Regions from separate parts of the Homo sapiens genome. Here region 1 is linked to region 2. The links are contacts of gene promoters, found by promoter capture Hi-C in blood cells and fetal thymus (Javierre and others, 2016). All regions are on one chromosome and are shown on one strand. The core of a region is centred on a gene start or on the middle of the fragment in contact, and the rest is flanking DNA. Distances in the headings are between cores, read along the strand shown.

Region 1 (4,681 bases), core at 1,440-3,939, 1.3 Mb before region 2:
AAGACTTAGAACTAGTGTCCCAAATTTGCAAAGAACCAAGCTGATATTAGAAAAACTAAATGACTGGGAGTGAGAAAATCTATTTTCTAGTTTTGTTCTTCTATTTACTATCTGCCTGACCTTCAGTTACCCAACCTCTCTTAACCTCGTTTCTTTTCCTATAAAATGCAGCATTATCTAATGACCTTACAAGCTATTATGAGGGCCAAATGACTATAATGAAACTGTACTTCAGAAGTGCTATACAACTTGTAGCACATATATTCATGATGTAAAACAGCACCATTAGTAATAATAAACATGCATCTCATGAAAAAAATTTATGCCACTTCAAGGTAATGGATTTTTCTTTTTTTATTAAAAAAAAAAAAAAAAAAAAAAAAAAAAAAAAGAGAGACGGGGTTTTGCCATGTTGCCCAGGCTACAAATTCCTGGGCTAAAGTGATCCGCACACCTCAGCCTCCCAAAGTGCTGGGATTACAAGTGTGAGCCACAGCATCCGGCCAAGGCAATGGATTTTTGCCTTTGTCAATATTTTGATATTCAAATAATGAATATTGACTCTCCCCCCAAAATTTTACATACAGTTTCAGGGAATGCATCGATCCTCTAGAGAAGTTATTTCAAATGGCCCATAGAAAATCCCCTCATGCGATGAGAAATATTATTAATAAATGGGAGCATATTGTAAATGTAATCCCTGTAGAGCCTCCTATCCCTAAAAGGTTGAGAGTCATAGCTCTAGGAAGTCATGGTCCTCTATGTTAGAATTTTATGAGGTTTTGAAGAAATAAGACAAATCAAATGAACACCTAAAGAAAGGACAGCTCAGACCAAAACTTCAGACCTATATAAACATGCTGCATTTAATAGAAACCCCATATCTAATAATAAACCTGTTAGAAACAATGTTTACAGGCTCAAGGGTAGTTCTTAGGTTTCCAACTGGAGTTAAAAACACCTCTATACCATACAAGTAAAATTTAGGTAAAAACATCAAAAGCAACTTGAGAGGGAAAAAGGAACAAAAAGGTGTATGTTACTATCCACTTTATTTATTTATTTATTTATTTATTTATTTATTTATTTATTTATTTATTTTTTGAGAGAGTGTCTCACTCTGTAGTCCAGGCTGGAGTGCAGTGGTGCCATCTTGGCTCACTGCAAGCTCTGCCTCCTGAGTTCAAGCAATTCTCATGCCTCAGCCTCCTGAGTAACTGGGACTACAGGCACAGGCCAGCACCACCAAGCCTGGCTAATTTTTCTATTTTTAATAGAGACAGGGTTTTGCCATGTTGGGCAGGCTGGTCTCCAACTCCTGGCCTCAAGTCATCTGCGCGCCTTGGCCTCCAAAGTGTTGGGATTACAGGAGTGAGCCACTGCACCTGGCCCATCCACTTTACTGATGAGCATGTTCAAAAACTAATTATAGGTACTGGTAATCTCCATTTTTGCGATATTATAAGAATTAACTGAGTAATTATTTATCGAACATCTACTATACATACAACATGCTTTCTGAGAATTAAGATGACACAGGCTAGCATTCTGCCTACAAGAAGCTTAATAGGGATAAGACACAAACACAAATAACTGTAATATGAGGCAGAATGTGTTAAGTAACATGAGAGAGTAACCGATAAAGTGCGTGGAAATTCAGAGGAAGAGATTACTTCCAGCTGGTACAGTCAGGGATGACTTGATAGAAGAAACAGCATTTAGGCCGGGAGCGGTGGCTCATGCCTTAATCCAGCACTTTGGGAGCCAGGGCAGGCAGATCACCTGAGGTCAGGAGTTCGAGACCAGCCTGGTCAACATGGGAAAACCCTGTCTCTACCAAAAAATACAAAAAATTAGCCAAGTCTGGTGGTGCACGTCTGTAGTCCCAGCTACGGGGAGAGTGAGGTGGGAGGATTGCTTGAACCTGGGAGGCGGAAGTTGCAGTAAGCCAAGATCATACCACTTCACTCCAGCCTGGGCTACAAAGTGAGACTCTGCCTCAAAAAAAAAAAAGAAAGAAAGAAAGAAAGAAACAGAATTTAGATCATGCTTTGATGAATTCCAGGATTTGTTTGTTTTGAAACAGAGTCTTGCTCTATTGCCCAAGCTGTAGTGCAGTGGCGTGATCTTGGCTCAGTGCAGCCTCAACCTTCTGGGCTCAGGTGATTCTCCCACCTCAGCCTCCCAAGTATCTGGGACTACAGGCACAGGCCACCACACCTGGCTAATTTTTTGTATTTTTCTGTAGAGACAGGGTTTTGCCATGTTGCCCAGGCTGGTCTCAAACTCCCAACCTCAAGTGATCTGCCCGCCTGAGCCTCCCAAAGTGCTGGGATTACAGGCATGAGCCGCCACACCTGGCCAGAATTCCAGGCTTTCAGTACGTCAAGATGAAGAAAGAAGTAGGGTAAAATCATATGTCTCTCTTTGAGTCATTCCATTATCCAGATACAAGCAAAACAAGGCTTCCAAAATAGGACCATAGTTCCCCATACTAAGTATAGCATAAATCTCCGAACACCCAGGACACCACAAATTACAGGTTCCAGGCAGTTGACACAGGTCTCTCTGTTACAGCTACTAATATGGCTAGAAGGTATGGTCACCTCTAAACATGATAAATTTATCCTATCCTAAATTAACATTTGTCTTCTTAAAGTTCTTGAAATAATAAACCTCTTTACATTAATGTTTACTGGTTTAACAATTATTAAAATATAGCATATACTAAAAGGTAAGTTAACAATTTTCCCTATTGAAATTTGATCTGATTTTCTCTGAGGAAGAATTAATAAATATGATTACAAAGTTTTTGGTTTTTTTTTTTTTTTTTTTTTTTAACATTTTTGGAAAAAACATTCCAGATCTAAAAGGAACTTGCAAGAGCCCTTGATTGTCTTACAGATGTGAAAACTGAGGGCCCATAAGTTAGATGATCTCTCCAGGACGGTTAAAAAAAAAAAAAATTCCCTCATAAAGTTGAGCTTTGCCAAACAACTTTTAATAATTCTTACATGGTTTGAGTACACTATCTTTGGACTAAATAACAACTCTCTCCTACACAGACTTAACTACATGAATTGTTAAGTGCCTCAAGTAAAAAAACCTGGAGAATTAGGTTTCTGTTCTGCCTTTGCCACTAATTATGTGACCTTGGATAAGTCACTTAATTGATTATTGAAATATCCCTAACATAGGAGGTTAGTTTACATGAAATCCAAAGTGCTCTGTGTCTTTAAAGTTCTGTAAGTCTAAGCATTTGAAAACTACAGTAACAGAAAAAAAAAAAAACAACTACAGTGACAGAAAATGTACAATACTTCCATTTTATACCCACTGCTCCAGTTCTAACCACTTTGGAACAATATTTTATAGTAACATTAGGCTGCCAGAAGGCAAATTGTCTAACCATAACAAATTGTGTGTGCAAGAGAGATACAAGAATAACAGGTGGTATAATAATTCAGGATAAATATGCACAACTCTCTCTCAAAAAAAGTCAAGTTCTTTCTTGAATCTCTAAATGCTTCAGGATCCCTTACTTCCAGAATTATAGTCACCTTCTCCTTTGTAATTCACCGCAATATTTTATACACATATACATGCACACACAATTCATGGTCATATTAAGGCTAGTTTCTATAATTGTCAGGGAGGACTGTTCTGTCTTTTCTATTTATATGAAGCTATTATAGATAAAATCAGAGAGAAGATTACAATAAAATGTAGACCACATACGAAACCTAAAACTTGAAAAGTAATTTACTCAGTGAGGGTTTTAAGTCCATCACATTTCTATTCTAAAACAAAAGCTTGCAGAGAATTAAAACACACACACACACACACACACACACCCGTTATCAGTTTCTGCAGTGAACTTCTATATGAAGACATAAATAGATGGCAAATCAATGGAAACTCAAGAGAATCATTTTCTTTCTTTGCTGTCCCTCAAAACACAATTAAAAAGATACATAAATAATACAGGGGCCGGGCGCCATGGCTCACACCTATAATCCCAGCACTTTGGGAGGCCGAGGCGGGCAGATCACGAGGTGAGGAGATCGAGACTATCCTGGCTAACATGGTGAAACCCCGTATCTACTAAAAATACAAAAAAGTAGTTGGGCGTGGTGGCAGGCGCCTGCAGTCCCAGCTACTCAGGAGGCTGAGGCAGGAGGATAGCTTGAACCCGGGAGGCAGAAGTTGCAGTGAGCTGAGATTGTGCCACTGCACTCCAGCCTGGAGACAGAGCGAGAATCCGTCTCGAAAACCAAACAAACAAGAAAAAAAGTCAGAACATGTTCTCATTAATTTGCAGAATACAAAAAAAAGATCAAATCAAGGCCCGCATGCCTACAGTCCCAGCTACTTGGGATATGGAGGCGGGAGGATTGCTTGAGGCTAGGAGTTCTAGGCCGCAGTGCACTATGATAGCGCCTGTGAATAGCTACTGCCCTCCAGCCTGGGCAACATAGTGAGACCCTGTCTCTTTAAAAAAAAAAAATCAAAAGATGCCTTTCTTTGTACTTTATTTTATGATGAAGTCATGAGAAAGCATTTGTTTCTGCATTTGTTCACTTATTTATCTATTGGAACTTTGCAGTCTAGGACATTCTGCACTTCAATAACTAAAGCCAAAGGGAATTTATTTTTTAAAAAATCAATGTTTACGTACTGA
Region 2 (5,044 bases), core at 387-2,886:
CCACTAACTGAGCAAAGAACAGACTCTTCAGAGTGACTAGTGGTGCAAAAAAGAATCCTGGGTTCTCTAGCGTGAAAAAGTCAAGGTAAAAAACATGGTAACACAAGTAAGGGAACTGGGACGGACGCCTTTTTTAAAAATCAAAAGGTCATCTTTTATGCCGCAGAGCAAACTTATGACCTTATGAGGAGAAAAGAAAATCAAAATACTTGGGAGGTGGGGATGAACATCGGGTTAGTTTGCATTCTTGCTTTTATTTTAACAGCATCACACGTATTCCCCCCCGGAACACTGAAGAGCGCATAGGGCAGATAGGTAGATGGGGCTGTGTCAACACCTCAGTCACAGCCCACAGACCCTCTGTGCCTCAGTTTCCCTCATTATACAAAGCTCCTGGGAGAAAATGGGCCCAAACCGCCATTGCTGCTCCCTCAGGTGCAAACATCCCGTCTCCAACATAGCCCAGGGCTGGGGGGTCCTCTGCGCCCGGTGAACGAAACCCCAGGACAAGGGCCATGCATGCAACTCCGTGGCTAGAGAGCCCGTGGCGCGGGTAGGAACAGCTGGCTGGAGGGTCGAGTGTACCAAAAAGAACTCCGCAACCCGGGGCGACCACCAGCGAAGCAGGGGCGCCGGAGCCACGGGTCCTCGGGCGAGAACAGGGGACAGACGGGAAGGGGACAATGGGGGGAAGCGGCGCTGGGTGGCCTTGGCCACCCCCCACAGGGGACTGCTAGGCTGGCCGCTGGCTCGGACCAGACCCCCCTCCACCCCTTCCCCTCGGTCCCCCCACCCCGCTGCCAGCCACCCCCCCGTCCCACTTCTAGGCCGGGACCCCCGCCTCGGTTCTCACAGCACCCTCCACGCCCCCCACCCGACCCCCATGCCCGGCCCTCGCCCCGCAACCCCCACCCACGCTCGCCCCGCACACACCTCCCGCGCCGCGCCCCCGGGAGGAAAGTGGGGGAGGGACGGGACGCACCTGAGCGGGCGGAGCGGGGGGAGGGGGCGGCCGAGCCACGGGGGGAGGGGTCGAGCGCCGGCCCGCGCGCGGCACCTCCCACTTCCGGCGGCACGAGCGGAGGGGGCGAGGCTCCGGCCGCGAGAGGAGAGGCCGCGGTGGCGCCGCGCCGCCCCCGACGGCGCCCTCTGGCGGCGACAGCTGGCGCCGCCGGGGCACGGGGATGCTGCGGGAGACCCCTGAGATACAAGTGGACTCTCCCGGGGCGCGGGGAAGAAGGGAGAGCCGACTGCGAGAAGGAAGGCGACCTGGGTGGGCAGGATCCCCTCTGGGAAGATTACAGGGACAGTCGGGGCCATGGCGGTCAGAAGGAGAAGAGCAACGAGTGGCTTTTAAAGGTCGGAACCGAAATGCCCTTTACAGAGGACGCCATGAAGGAGAGCCTTCTGAAGAGGGACCATGTGGAAGATGCCCCGAGGACTCGGGGAGGCGGAGCCCGCGGGTTCAGCCCCCAGCGCCCGCACGGCCCCTGCCTGCGTAGGCCGCCCGCGGGAGCCGGACCCCGGGCGCCGGTTGCTGTGGCCCGCGGGGGTCGCCGGGCCGCAGGCGCCGCGCTGATTGGCTGCGCCGCGGGCGGAAGTGATGCTGCTGTCACTGCTCCTCCGGCTCCCGGGAAGCCGCGAGTTTCCGCAGGGAGGCGGCGGCAGCTGCGGCGGGGCCGGTGAGTTGGGAACTAGGTGTGGGGCTGGACCTGGGTGGTCAGGGGGCCCCAGAAGTGGGGGAAGCCGGCGTCTGAGGATGAGGGAGCTGCACAGAGGGTGCCTGAGGTCCTGGCGTGGGGGACCAAGGAGATGGGGCCCCAGGGCCCAGAATTCCTGGATAATGTGGGTGCTAATGAGGAGAGGGGCACATTGCACGGAGCGATCGAGGCCGACGGAGGGAGAATCGGGAAACTGACCCGGTACCCAAGCTGGCTTCTAGGAGCCGGGTGTGGAACAGCGAGGACAGTAGCTTGGGAGCAGGATCTTGGACTCCAGGCTGCCCATTCTCTTCTTCCTTGTCAATTAAGAGCTGTAAAGGGAGGCCTAGCCGTTGGGAGAGGTTGAGACCTGCTTTCAGAAGGCATTTAAGGTTCCTTTCCCAGAAGCCTGGGGGATAAAAATGCTGCTTTGCCACTAGTAGACAGAAGGAGCTCCTGCTTCTCTTTCTTCCTGACATCTGTGGTGGGATCTACTGAGTCTGAAGGAGTCTGCCTAGCGGGGCCACTGTCTGGCTAACAAGGGTTTTGTTTGTTAGTTTGTTTACTTAGTAGAGTATGCAGACTGGGGAAGACACCTAAATATCTTGGGAGAATTGAGGCTCCCGGGGGCAGGGAGGGATTGAGAGGGAATATGCCTGGAAACCTAAGAGAAAACGAGAGGAAGAAATGTAGTATGAAGATTTTTAGAGGTAAAGGAGAGGTGGCATAAGTTCTCCTTTCCAGGAAGCCTTTCAGTAAAATTCCCATTTTTCTGGAATGCTTTGAGGTAGAGCCGCTTGGGTGTGTATCTGAGTACTAAGCCCTGCCCCAGGGTGGACCCAGTGGAGAGCAAAGGCTTTTAAAGGAGCCCAGCCACCATAGGTACACACATGTCCTGCCACCCCATTTGTCTGTCCCCCAGTTCTAACTTGGCTCTTTTTTTTTTTTTTTGAGGGCTCCTGAGACCAATTCCCTGGTTCTGTCAAACCCAGGCAATTGGAGTCCCAGTCTGGAGTCTGAGTCCTCACCTTGAAGCCAGCCTCCTGAGCTCAGTACAGGAGTAGCTGCTTAGTGAGGTTCTCTCATCATTCGTTCTCTCCTGGTTGCCCGCTTGTCCTTGGTGCCTGTTCTGTTTTGTTTGCACTCTCTGGCTTTCCCCGTTTCGCCCCCGCCGCCTCCCTCCTTTCACTTTCCCTGGTATCCTTCTGGGATATACAAATCAAGAAGTTAGCTACCACCTGGACTTCTAGGACGTTATTACCTACTCTTTCAAGAGGCATTTTGGTAACTGTTTTTTGCTAGGCCTCTGGGGAACAAAATGAAAAGAGGGTGGCACGATAGCACAGGAAGTGGGTTTTTTGGGTGTTATACTGATTTGGCCTCACCGTACCAGTTCTGCTCCAGTCTATGACCGATTTTAGATCTTTGGAAATGACAATTAATGAAGTTTCTTTGGTCCCTGGTCCTGGAGTTTATCTAACCTCAGCTTGTTGCCCTGGGATTGGTGGGACATTATTTCTTCTGTTCTTGGATCCCACAGGTCTGTAGCCTTTGCTGAGTCAACACTACTCACAGTGAAAGTGATGCCTTTTCTCCATTTGCACAACATGAGTGTGACGTGGTTAGCCAGACCAGGAGCTCAACCTCATGTAGAATCCAGGTGGGCACGGGGCCCTGTTATGGGGAATTAGCCTTGAGGACAACTGGACTGAGGAGTCAGCTAGGGAAAGATTTATGTCCCCTCTAAATGTAGGGGTGAAGGGGTTGTCTCTGCTAAAGAACAGTCACGATGCAGCCAGTAGTTTGTGGAAGCGATGTGTGCTTTGAGCCCTGTGGGTGGCAACAGGGGTTGCTCGCAGTGCCTGTGAGCAACTGGACCTCCTGCTGGATTAGCTGGTGTCGTGAGGATTGGCTGTCTTGCTGTGGGAGGCCATCCGCTGGTGTTAGTGCTGGCCCACACTCCACCTGGGGGCTTATCCCTGTTGGTCAGGGATAAATGTGAACAAAAAGAGAAGATCAAATGTTTCACAATTTAAAAGGCATGGCTTAGGGACTTCCAGGGGGAACACATGGATGGCTCAGCATCTCCCTCTCAGATTCCTGCAGTTACCAGCTCTTTGATCTCTTCCATATCCTTTTTCTTTGTCTGCAGTCCACTGCTCTGATGCCGAAGGGGAGGCAGAAAGTGCCACACTTGGATGCCCCCCTGGGCCTGCCCACCTGCCTCTGGCTGGAATTAGCCGGGCTCTTCTTACTGGTTCCCTGGGTCATGGGCCTGGCAGGGACAGGTGGGCCTGATGGCCAGGGCACAGGGGGGCCGAGCTGGGCTGTGCACCTGGAAAGCCTGGAAGGTGACGGGGAGGAAGAGACTCTGGAGCAGCAGGCGGATGCCTTGGCCCAGGCAGCAGGGCTGGTGAATGCTGGACGCATCGGAGAGCTTCAGGGGCACTACCTCTTTGTCCAGCCTGCTGGGCACAGGCCGGCCCTGGAGGTGGAGGCCATCCGGCAGCAGGTGGAGGCTGTGTTGGCTGGGCATGAAGCTGTGCGCTGGCACTCAGAGCAGAGGCTGCTAAGGCGGGCCAAGCGCAGCGTCCACTTCAACGACCCCAAGTACCCGCAGCAATGGCACCTGGTGAGTCCAGTCCTGCAGTTTGCAGTTTCAGGTGGGTAGGTTCCAGTCCAGTTCTTTAATGGGCTTTTGACTATATCACTCTTCAGTCACCTCCATCCTTTGCCTGAGGGACCATTTCCCGGTTCTGTGGTGTTTCCCTAGGCTCTCCCTCCCTTCTACTGTCTTCTAGAGGCCGGTGTTCTACAGTGCTCAGGGCACAGATGGTGCAGCCAGGCTGCCTGGGCTCATGGTCCAGCTCTGCCACTTACTAGCATGTGCATTTGGGCAAGCTGCTTAAACTCTGTGCCTCAGCTTCTCCATCTGTAAAGTGGAGATTGTAATAGTGCCTACCTCATAGAGTTATGGTTAGGGTAAGTGAATGTATACATGTGTAGCACTTAGAACCATGCCTGACACATGGTAAACACTATGACATAAGTGATACGATACTACCATTGGCATAAGAGGTGTATCATCTGGCCCGGTGCGGTGGCTCACGCCTGTAATCCCAGCACTTTGGGAGGCCGAGATGGGCAGATCACGAGGTCAGGAGATCAAGACCATCCTGGCTAACACAGTGAAACCCTGTCTCTACTAAAAATACAAAAAATTAGCCAGGCGTGGTGGCAGGCGCCTGTAGTCGCAGCTACTCGGAAGCCTGAGGCAGGAGAATGGCGTGAATCCGGGAGGCGGAGCTTGCAGTGAGCCGAGATCCTGCCACTGCACTCCACAC

The links. The method cuts DNA at HindIII sites, captures the fragments that hold promoters and counts their contacts. A CHiCAGO score of 5 or more calls a contact.
Region 1: a contact is called between a fragment that was not itself captured here and the fragment with the promoter of PCSK7 in region 2, in 1 of 17 cell types (monocytes). The highest score is 5.7, in monocytes.

Annotation. Positions count from the first base shown.
Region 1 is chr11:118,574,585-118,579,265 of GRCh38, reverse strand. The region is part of intron 1 of ARCN1 (archain 1 coat protein complex I subunit delta); the gene reads right to left. It also overlaps a transcript of IFT46 not described here. Among named protein-coding and RNA genes, the nearest start is that of ARCN1, 4.5 kb to the right of the region's middle. The HindIII fragment of the contact is 2,250 bases long and covers 1,565-3,814 here.
Region 2 is chr11:117,228,665-117,233,708 of GRCh38, reverse strand. PCSK7 (proprotein convertase subtilisin/kexin type 7) reads left to right here and starts at 1,636. Exons shown (of 17, transcript NM_004716.4): 1 at 1,636-1,682; 2 at 3,241-3,360; 3 at 3,853-4,332. The coding sequence starts at 3,865. RNF214 (ring finger protein 214) reads right to left here and starts at 1,038. Exons shown (of 15, transcript NM_207343.4): 1 at 983-1,038. RefSeq lists silencers at 899-1,238, 1,449-1,598 and enhancers at 1,789-1,838, 2,708-2,947. The HindIII fragment of the contact is 17,537 bases long and covers 1-5,044 here.